4 separate regions of the Homo sapiens genome follow, and regions 1, 2 and 4 are each linked to region 3. The links are contacts of gene promoters, found by promoter capture Hi-C in human tissues and cell types (Jung and others, 2019). All regions are on one chromosome and are shown on one strand. The core of a region is centred on a gene start or on the middle of the fragment in contact, and the rest is flanking DNA. Distances in the headings are between cores, read along the strand shown.

Region 1 (2,700 bases), core at 122-2,621, 420 kb after region 3:
GAGCAATGAGAGGGAATCAGCCTGGACCACTGAGTCACCATGCCGAGGACAGTTGCCCTGGTGGGCTGCCTGAAACTGCAGTGGGCTTGGCATGAGTGAGAGTTGGATTTCTGTTGTGTTACCTACTGCGATTTGGGGGCTGTTTGTTAGGGCGGCATAGCATAGCAGAGCCTCACTGCTACAGAAAGACTTGGCTAAGTGGTGAATCACACATGACTCTTCCCTTGCAGAGCTCATGGTTTAGTAGGGCAGATGAGATCTATGTGTAAAAAACTGTAACAGAGGCTGGGTGGTGGGCCTCAGGGCTTGCCCGATTTCAGAGCCAGCCCTGGAGAAGTTGCACCAATCGAGCAAAGACTTGAAAGAGAGCATGACCCAGGAGAGTGAATGTCATTCCAGCTGGAAGGAACAGCATGAGCAAAGATCCAGAGGCCAGAAATTAAGGGGCGTGATGAGTTTGTCAGAGTTGAGGATGTGGGAAGAGAAATGGGAGAAAATAAGGCTAGAAAACACCACTGGCCCCAAGATCATGAAGGGCCTCACATTTCAGATAAAGGAGTTTGGATGCATTTCTACATACTAGCGTTTCTCCAGGAAACCTGAGTCTCGTAATACACACCTAGAAGGTAAGAGCTTCATCATGAAGACATTTAGAAAAAGCTACACCCCCCACTTCCTTCTTAATATGATGTTAACAGAGTCAAGCCTCTGAGAAGTCCTGCAGTAAGGAATCCAACTAGATTTGCTTAATGCAGCATTTCTCAGCCCTGTTGGAGCAGGAGCTCTTTTTTGACATACTTGGGGAAACATTGATGAGCAGAAGGATTTATAAGCGGGAAGATGGCAGGAGACAGGCCTGTGAGGCGGGGAGATTCATCAGCAGCAAGGAGACAGACAGGACAGCCGCTGCCAGCTCACATCCACCCCCTACCCCCCACCACCCACCTCAGCTGGCCTCGCCGCAGCCAGGCGGACCAGTCCATGCAGGCTCCAGCCCCTCCGTGCTGGCTCATTGTGCCACAAGCACAGGCCGCTGGTCTCCAGTCCTTCCCAGAACTTCTCCAGTGCCGTGAGGCTGAGGAAGCCCCTCGGGCCTTCCACATCACCGCAGGGAAGTGGGGAGTCAGCGCTTGACCCATGAAGGGACGAGATCCATAGATAAGTACTCCTTTTGGGCAGACAATTCTAGGAGGTGTTCTGTGCACGTCTTAGGAGGTCACGGTGGGACTGCACCCCGTGCCCCAGCAGCGACGTCAATCGCACAGCCTGCTCCTCCTGACTTGCCACTGAACCCATGCGCCCTGGACAACCTCCCAAGGAACCCACCACTGCTCCACGGGCAAGTTGCCGGCTGCCTTTGGGGAGCCCAAGATAAGAGCAGGGGTGGATTAGAAGGATGGTGGGGGAACGAAAGCCACGTGTGGGACAAAAGACGATCATGAAAGCTCGTCTAGACCCAGGAAGGAAACCTAAGTGTCCAGATGAACACCGCTCCACAGAGAAGTGGCAGCAGAGCAGCGGACGGCAGAAACCACGCCTTGCCGAGCTCCCACGGGGCCAGAATCTACCCCACAATTCGGCTTCATCTTAATCTACTAAGCCTCCCTGCAAAGACTTTTATCACTTCTTTGATTTTACAAATTTGGAAACTAAGGCTCAGAGAAGTGTGGTTTTACCTCTGAAACACGCAACTTCCCACCCACCCAAAATGAGTGATGGAGAAAGAACCAACAGGATTGGGCAACTGTTGGATGTTGAGCAAGAGGGAGAGAAGAGTTGACTCGGAGGTTGGTATACTCCAAGAAGGCTTCCTGGAGGAAGTGGACAATTCAGAACACAGGACCCTTTATCCAAATCAAATACAAATAGGGAACACTATTATTAAGTATTATCTCCTATCTCTGTAAAAAGCCTTGTGGCCAGGGGGTGTTCTGGAAATGCTAGTTAATTTCTGGTTAAATATTGGATCCCTGGGAGTTCTTTAAAGGCTCGTTTACCCAGCCTGGAAGTTAAGCCTGTAACTTAAACGCATTGTCAAAACCAGGAAACATTTACCCCCCAGTCCAGACCACAGCTGAGTCATTGGCCAGGAGAAGCTCAGTCTGTGTGCAGAGAGCTGGAGATTATCTCATCTTCCAGGCACTTGTAGACATCCAATCTGGACAAATCATGTCCCACTCCCAAGAATCTGCAAGAAATGGCCTGATGTGTCTCCCACAGAACAGCCGATGATGATAACTCATTGTCACTCGAGCCAGTGGGCAGATAATGACCCCGCTGACAGGGTCCAGCCTGCTGCTCCGCCCCAGCAGACATGCTCCAACAATGGCTTCATCATCCTCCCCACCGGGACTGTGTAGATGAGGGAGGTGCCTCCCGCGGTGCAGGCTGTGAGCTCTAAGCAGTCACGCTGGACGCTGGACCAGTGCCCTGGGCTGCTCCTCCCTGCAGCCCCACGAGCCCAGGTAGGGATCACCAGAGGTCGTTTCACTCCCAAGTGGAGTGATAAGTCAGTCCTTCTACAGGAAGATTTCTCACAAAGTGCCCTACTGCACTGTCAAAGGGTAAAAAGGAGAAAAAAAATAATAAAGCCAGAGGCAAGGGCTCCAGGCAAGAGCAAGATGACAATATTTGTACAGCGGGGTTTGGAGAGGAGCCCCCGTGAGAGCCCAGCGTCTGAGAGAGCCAGTCCTTTGAACT
Region 2 (2,700 bases), core at 175-2,674, 330 kb after region 3:
TCCAGGCCCCCACCCCTCCCAACCGTTCCCACACGATTTCACATGTGGTCCTAGAGGGGCACTTCCTGCCGTTATAAAAAGCAAAACCAAGACCCCAGCAAAAACAGCCTGTGTGCAGAACACCCAAGTCGACAGTGTGAGAGCGAAGGCCTAATCCATTCCATATGACAAACAGCAGTGGCCCGCAGGGGCCGGCCAAACCCTGAGGAGAATTCAGAACAGTCCCTCCACCCCCTCCCCTGCCCTGGGTTCCTCGCTGCACCCCCTTCTCCCCACTCCCTTCTCAAGTGGACCCTTCAAAACAGGAGAAAAATATTCTTAGGAGCATGCCCCTAACTTTAAACTGATTATGTTTGGGTTTAATAGCCTACTATGCATTGTTCTTTCTTCACTTTGAAAATAAACTCTAGGAAGCATTAATGCAAATACAATATAAACACGCTCGTTCCTAAATTTTCAAATGTCCCTGGCGTGTTTGGGCTTGCTCCTTAAGGTTACGGGTTAGGTTGATGTAAGAACCAGATGGATCTTTAAGTTGGAAGCTTTGCAGCCCTCGCCATGTAAACAGACAGCTGTCCAGATGATGGGAGGTATAACAGAGCCCCAGGAACAAGGCCTTGGATAACTGCTTGCATTGTCTTTCCTGAACCAGCAAAATGCACAAGCTCTGTGAGGGCTCCTTCCTCTGCAGCAAAATGACAAACATCACTTTAGTTACAGAAGGAGGTGCAATTATAGAGGTGTTGATTCCAGGAGTGAATGAAAGTAACAGCTTTCTATAGTGACCACACTTTCCTCCACCTCTTTATGTTTCTGTAGCTAGCCTTTTCATGCTAAAGGATCTTGTTCCCATCGACAAATGCCCTTCGTTCATTCAGTCCCCATTGAGAGCCAGCAAATAGAACAATCCCTGTCACTGTTACCCTCCAAGGGTAACTTCATGTGCTTATCAGTGACCACATCCAAAGGAGAACCTTTCTACTTCCTGTTTCCTACTTCCTGCTTCCTGCTCCCAAGTTCCATAAACCATTCTCCTTGAGAGGTGCTAAAAATGGAAAGGACAAGATGAAAGAGTTGGCCAAGAGATTTACACCAGCCCATAAAAGTCTCTGCAGTGCTCTGAAGACTAAATTGTCGCTTCTACTTTAACTTAACCTTTCACTGAGTGGTGATCTGAATGTCGTCTATGATTCCACTAAAACCTACGAGGCTTACCATTTGTGGTTTGGTTGTTCTGGATGACTTGACAAATTAGCCTAGTAAATTTTGGATGTCTTAAGCACTAAATTAGGTCATTTGTTTAATGAGCCAATCCACTGCCCAGAGTTTGACCCCAGCCCACTGGGGTGAGTTCACATGGAGTTCCACTGTGGAGGCCGGTGGCCCCTCATTTGTCTTAGGCTTCTAGAGAAACAGCTCCAGAATTAGGGCTGGAATCTGAATTCCAACCTTAACATTGATTCATTAGTGAACATTAACAAAGTGAATTCTTTGGCCTCAGTTTCTCTCCCTCCCACTCTCTTTCTCCAGTATCATTGTCATCATCATCATCATCACCATCATCATCACCCTGCCCCTCAAACGGTGCACAAGCACAATCTCACCCAGCTCTCACAATAACCCCATGAGGCAATGCCCTCACTATCCTCATTTTCCAAATCTTGAAACTGCTGGCTTTCCCAAGAGCACACTCAGTCACTCACACTCACTCACTTATTAAATTTTTCAATAAATATTTGTTAAGCATCTACCAGGTGCCAGTCACTGGGGATACACAGCTGATTAAGCCATAGTTATTGCTTTCAAGGGCTTTATCATTCCATTGAACAGAGTCATGCATATTAATAAATTTAATTTTATTGTTACCATAATTCAGGCAGAAGTACGCCCGAGGCACAACCAACTTTGTCTAAAACATTCCCTGAATTATGCATATGGATTCCAACCTTTTCAAACAATGTCCATTCACTAACATGATGTCCATCCACAAGCCGACATCTGTGCGTGCCTTCTACAAGCGGTACTGTCTACTCACAGCAGGTTTCACAGGTACTGCTGACACATCTAGTACAAAGGGAACTGATGTTACTTTTGAAATAAATTGACACTTCTTTTGAAAGACAGAGTAAAGGTGATCTTCTCATTATTACTTTATTTGCTTCCCCCACACTTCATAGCTTCCCATTTCTCATCTGACTTGCTCTGAACCATTAAGAAAGATGGATCATTCCAAGTTTGGCCAATAATCAACCCACAACCTGCCCTCCTTCATGGCCATATTTTGTTTTGTTATGTTACAAAGGACGCCTGAGAGAGCTAGCCAGGAAGAGTTACTTCTGAGAAACGACAAGCTCAGGACCTTTCCAAAGGCTCTCACTGCCCCCATATGTGACAAGGGCAGTGTGAATGCCATGGCCGCGCCATCCCGTGGCTGCCTCCACAGACCTGCCCCATGCCAGTAGGAAGTTCCTTTTTTTCCCCTCTGCCTAAATATACACTGACATGGTCAGAGATCTAATGGTAGATTTGAGTATTTAGGAAAAACAAGGACCATGGAACAATTGCTTTGCCTACTTACACCACGGGTGGTAACACTGCCAATGAAATTGGTAGTTCAAACTTTTTGCAATTGGTGCAAGTATATAAAACCTCAAATCCCCGCCCCACAACACACAGAGAGAGGGGATGGAAGGAGAGAAA
Region 3 (2,700 bases), core at 85-2,584:
GTTATCCGAATGTGTGTGTGTGTGTGTGGGTGTGTGTGTGACAGTGTGTGTGTGTTTTAATATTCAGGGGGTGGTCATAAACAGGAAGTAGTCACACTAGGTGCCTCTACCCTTACCCTAACCGGTGGAGTGGGGAGGAGAGGCCCCCTTCGAAATCAGCATGATTCAGGATTTTTTATTCAAACAGTGATGTGGGAAAATGTAAAATGAGATGGGGGTGGAGGGCCGCGTACACCCCAGGGTGGGTGGATACAGGGAGAGCAAGCAGGCTTCCCAAATGCCTAATGTAATCACGGGCCAGCTGCATGCACTTGTAAAGTTGTTATAACCCCCTCCTTGTTATAAACAGGAAAGCCCAGAATATAAAGCTGGAGACCCACATTCACAAATACCAGGCCTCCCGCGCCAGCTGCCACGGCCTCCTTTTATGGTGTTCCTCTCTTGCAACCTTGGCCCCATCAGGAGGACCTTACTTTTGCCCCCGGTTCTCTAAATGGGTTTATTTTGAAACCTTCCTCAATGGAGCTGTGGACCATGAGCTCTTCCCCAGGCCCCCAGTGCCTTAGGCCTTCCCTTCCAGAGAGACTGGGCTCCCAGAGTCCACTTTCCCTCCGATTTCCGGAGAGCCCTGGAAGGGAGGGTGTGGGAGAGCAGGTCCCTAGAGAGTGCCACCTCCTACTGGGTCTGCCACCTGTTTTTCCAGGGAGGGCCGCATCCCCTTCTCAGCAGACACTCAGGCTTCTTAGATACTCTCCCTGCCCCAATCTAAAAGGTTCCTAGGACCTCAGAAAGTGTTTTACTAGACTGTGGCATCTCGATATCTCCGGTTAAGCCTGGGAGAAGAAAAGACCTTTTGTGGGAGGCCCTGGCGTTATGGGGCTCCCCCAGGCCAGCGTAAAACTCATCCCTGCACACCCACCCCCATCTCCACCTCTCCTTCCTGGCTCAGCAGACCCTGCTCTGAGCCACCGCAGTCTACATCCTGCCTCACTGACTGTGTGTGCTTACAGCGTCAAGGGGTGGACGTGATATTTCAAACATCAGATCAGTGCGTTTATATATTGGGTGCCCGGAAATTTTTCCAAATAAACACAGCTTGATTCAACTTGGGTGGGCGGACTTATCAACAGACTAATTCTATAAACAAATGAAGGAATAGCCCCAAAACCGATTGGCTGGTATCAAAAAGACACGTGGAGGGAAAAGCTTGGAGTTTTTCAGCAATGAAATTTTAATTAATGTGGGTGGGCTGAGAACACAAGGACTGTTTATCATAGACAATTTATTTTCCAGGGCTAAGTCAACATATAACAGCAAACTTACAACAATTATTTAACATTTTTAAAGCCATGAAGAAGGGACAGAGCACGGAGCGGCCGGGGAGAGCGGCAGAGCCAGAGGCAGAGGCACGGCTGGCTCCCCGGGAGGGCCCTTGCGGCGCGGGGCGCAGTGCCTAGGCCGCCCGGGTCTCCTGCGTTGCGGGGAGCGCAGCGCAGGCTCTCGCTTGCCATGAGTCACCTCTTCGATCCCCGGCTGCCTGCCCTGGCCGCCTCGCCCATGCTGTATCTGTACGGTCCCGAGAGACCCGGCCTCCCTCTGGCCTTCGCCCCCGCGGCTGCTCTAGCTGCCTCGGGCCGGGCCGAGACCCCGCAGAAGCCTCCCTACAGCTACATCGCGCTCATCGCCATGGCGATCCAGGACGCGCCCGAGCAGAGGGTCACGCTCAACGGCATCTACCAGTTCATCATGGACCGCTTCCCCTTCTACCACGACAACCGGCAGGGCTGGCAGAACAGCATCCGCCACAACCTCTCGCTCAACGACTGCTTCGTCAAGGTGCCCCGCGAGAAAGGGCGGCCGGGCAAGGGCAGCTACTGGACGCTGGACCCCCGCTGCCTGGACATGTTTGAGAACGGCAACTACCGGCGCCGGAAGAGGAAGCCCAAGCCGGGCCCCGGGGCCCCGGAGGCCAAGAGGCCCCGCGCCGAGACGCACCAGCGCAGCGCGGAGGCGCAGCCGGAGGCGGGGAGCGGGGCAGGGGGCTCGGGCCCCGCAATCTCCCGCCTGCAGGCAGCGCCCGCGGGCCCCTCGCCCCTCCTGGACGGCCCCTCTCCGCCGGCGCCCCTCCACTGGCCGGGGACCGCGTCCCCGAACGAGGACGCTGGTGACGCTGCCCAGGGCGCAGCGGCCGTGGCGGTCGGCCAGGCAGCGCGCACAGGGGACGGCCCGGGGTCCCCTCTGCGCCCCGCCTCCCGCAGCTCTCCGAAGAGCTCCGACAAGTCCAAGAGCTTCAGCATAGACAGCATCCTGGCGGGAAAGCAGGGCCAGAAGCCGCCTTCAGGGGACGAACTCCTAGGGGGTGCCAAGCCTGGGCCCGGCGGCCGTCTGGGTGCCTCGCTCCTGGCCGCCTCCTCCAGCCTCCGTCCGCCTTTCAACGCTTCCCTGATGCTCGACCCGCATGTCCAGGGCGGCTTTTACCAGCTCGGGATCCCCTTCCTCTCTTATTTCCCCCTGCAGGTTCCCGACACGGTACTCCACTTCCAGTAAAGCAAACAATGGCACGGTTCTTCTCCCGGCCCAGCCTGAGCCTCCGCTGAGCGAAAGGCCACAGCTCCCACCGGCGGAGGATTTTAAAATGATCTTTGCCTGGGTCGGCCTGTGGGTTCAGGGAAGTGTTACCAACCATTGCGCGCAGGTGGG
Region 4 (2,700 bases), core at 38-2,537, 390 kb after region 3:
CTTGCCGGTGGAGCTCCTCCCAAGCCCCAGGGGCCCTGCCACACAGCGGCGCCTGGCCCTGGAGCACAGGGCAGGCTCCCAGGTTCTCTGAGACAGCCTCGCATTCCAGGGGCTCCTTTCCTCAGGGCAGGTGGTCAAATACCTAATGACATAAATAGTGTAGCATCCAGATGGTCATCACAAATACATTCCAAATTTTGCAGAGAAACGAAGAATTTTTTCACCATCAGTGTATGTGAGGTCATTTATTACAGGGGCAAAACATGTTTCATCCTCCAGCAGCCCTTAGTTTCTTCTCTTTTAAGCTACAAAGACTCTCAGCCAAAACATCAGAAAGAATTGGCAGGGTCTGTTTACCTAGTTTTAAGAAATCTAACATCTTTTCAATGGGGTCCACCCCAACTTGATGACAATCAAAGCAAACTTTGAGTCTTCTACGTAAAGGATCAGCCCCATTGAATATCCCTTGATGGTGGGTGGGTGACATGTGCGTGTCCTACTGAAACTCGAGCACCTCCACAAAGATTTCGCACTGAGGACACTGCATGGTCCTGGCTCAGCCTGTGACTTCAGACTTGGGACATACAACCTCTGTCTACCCTACAACCTCATGTCACAGAATTCTAGAATGTCCAAGCTGGAAAAGAGCCTGAGAGAAGGGGTTTTCCAGTGTCCACCCCAAGCCTGGATGCTGTGGCATCACCTGGAGGACCCATACTCTGACTGACGCCTGATCCAACCCCACCCCACCCCTAGCTCCAAGGCATCCTGGCTTAGGAGCTCTGGAGTGGTGGGGTCCAGGCATTTGTATTTCCCAATGACTTCTAGGTGATGAGGATGTACATCCAGGTGGCTGCCCTGAGCCTGGCCTCCAGCCTGCATGAAGGCCTGCAGCTCGTCCAGAGCCACATGGCAGGACAAGGCCTCTGGGCCTTCGGCAGGCCCTCAGCACCACCCTCCCTCAAAGCTTGGCCAAGACAATTGCAGTGGGTTGAATGGTGCCCCCAAAAGATATGTTCAAGCCCTGGAATCTGCATGGGACCTCATTTGGAAACAGGATCTTGGAAGATGTAATTAGGTTAAGGATCTTGAGATGAGATCATACTGGATTAGGGTGGGCCCTAAATCCAGTTGCACATCGTTATTACAGAAGTAGAAACTGTCACAGACACACAGAGGAGACAGGCACGTGATGATGATGGAGGCAGAGATGGGATTGATGCAGCCACAAGCCAAGGAATGCCGAGAGCCACTAAGAACTGGAAAAGGTAGGAAGGAGCTTCCCCTAGAGCCTCTGGAGGGAGTGCAGCCCCGTGCACAGCTTGATTTCAGACTTGCGGTCTCCAGAAGTGTGAGAGAATAAATGTGTTTGTTTTGAGCCTCTCGTTTTGTGGTCATTGGCTACCACAGCCCCAGGACACTGACACAACCACCTGCAGGGCCTCCCCCAAGGGCTGCCACCTACTTCCAAGAAAGGGGAAGTTTCAACACTGCTGAGTGAAGCTGCGGCAGGGGCTGCCTCTACCTGCAATGTCTGTATCACAAGTCCTTCCTCCAAACACATCAAATCCGGCATTCCTCAGAAGCAGAGATAGTGGAAGGAAGTGGTATCTGACTGACCCAAGGCCTGGGGGGGCTTGCCCAGAGAGGGTCTCTTTAGGCAAATAGGAAAGATTTTACTCAATTGCAGGTCTCCTGGCATCCACCTTCCCATCTCCCACAGAAGCCCCGTCTGCCTGGCCTAGACACTGAGCCTATGCCAGGGCTCACTTCCCCTGGGGCTAGTGCTGGCCAGGAGGAGAGCAAGCATGACTCTGGAATCATTCCATCCAGACGGATGAGACCACACTGCCTCCTCCTGCCATGCATCTCTTCCCAGCACCATATGGCTCTGCTGAGGATTCCACACTCCACACAGACTCACCACCTTCACCCAGGGGCAAAGTCTCTGAGGTCTGGGCCCCGAATCCCATTTGACAGTCACAGACCCAAGTCTACAGTCTTCGTCTCCATCAAGGAGCAGAAGCAAGGTGGCCCTGTGGCTAAGCAAGTGCTTCCAAGTTCCCCCTGCCTGGGCTGGGACGCAACATCTGCTGCAGACAAGAGCGTGAGCTTTGGGGAGGTGTTTAACTCCTAGGAGCTACATTTGCTCATCTGCAGAAGGAAAGAATCATCGCATTTACCCCCGTGAATGCGGTCAGGGTTAACTGCCATTATGCTTAGCACGGGAGAAGTGCGTGGCAAATGTGATCGTCACTATGAACTTCATTCTGGCTCTGGTCTTCCACAGCCATGTCCCAGCTGTTTGGCAGCCTCTGGGCCATTTGGACTGAGGACAAAAGGCCTTTGGAAGCTTAGCGGAAGCAGGAAGCAGGAAGTGGGCTGAGAGGAGAGGCCCAGAGCGGGTCCTGAGCCTGTGCCCTCACTGGAGGGGTTTGGCCCATCCACTGAGCAGGCAGCATGATGTGGCCAAACCCAAGCTGCTGAGGCAGGAACATCTGGTGCAACATCTGCCTCTAAAGACAGCAGGGAGCCAGGAAGAGCTCAGGGGCCATGGAGCTCTGCTGCATGCCAGGTCCTGCTTCTGCGGCCCCATTGCTCCTCCATGTATTCATGTCCCTGCCCTTGGAGAATCTTCAGTAGCTTGCTACTGCCCTCAAAGTCAACCCCAGCCCCTGAGCTGTATTTCAGAGAACTCTG

Evidence for each region. Contacts are between HindIII fragments. The study calls those that stand out against the background at their distance.
Region 1: a fragment that was not itself captured here is called in contact with the fragment with the promoter of FOXL1 in region 3 in 2 of the 25 tissues and cell types used here (IMR-90 fibroblasts and lymphoblastoid cells).
Region 2: a fragment that was not itself captured here is called in contact with the fragment with the promoter of FOXL1 in region 3 in 1 of the 25 tissues and cell types used here (lymphoblastoid cells).
Region 4: a contact is called between a fragment that was not itself captured here and the fragment with the promoter of FOXL1 in region 3, in 2 of the 25 tissues and cell types used here (IMR-90 fibroblasts and aorta).

The regions. Positions count from the first base shown.
Region 1 is chr16:86,992,648-86,995,347 of GRCh38, forward strand. No RefSeq gene overlaps it. Among named protein-coding and RNA genes, the nearest start is that of LINC02181, 64 kb to the right of the region's middle. The HindIII fragment of the contact is 6,483 bases long and covers 1-2,700 here.
Region 2 is chr16:86,910,520-86,913,219 of GRCh38, forward strand. No RefSeq gene overlaps it. Among named protein-coding and RNA genes, the nearest start is that of LINC02181, 150 kb to the right of the region's middle. RefSeq lists an enhancer at 1-2,050. The HindIII fragment of the contact is 9,380 bases long and covers 1-2,700 here.
Region 3 is chr16:86,577,215-86,579,914 of GRCh38, forward strand. It overlaps FOXL1 (forkhead box L1), which reads left to right and starts at 1,335. Exons shown (of 1, transcript NM_005250.3): 1 at 1,335-2,700. The coding sequence starts at 1,510. The coding sequence ends at 2,547. RefSeq lists an enhancer at 2,195-2,700. The HindIII fragment of the contact is 9,412 bases long and covers 1-2,700 here.
Region 4 is chr16:86,969,077-86,971,776 of GRCh38, forward strand. No RefSeq gene overlaps it. Among named protein-coding and RNA genes, the nearest start is that of LINC02181, 87 kb to the right of the region's middle. RefSeq lists an enhancer at 1-453. The HindIII fragment of the contact is 4,579 bases long and covers 1-2,700 here.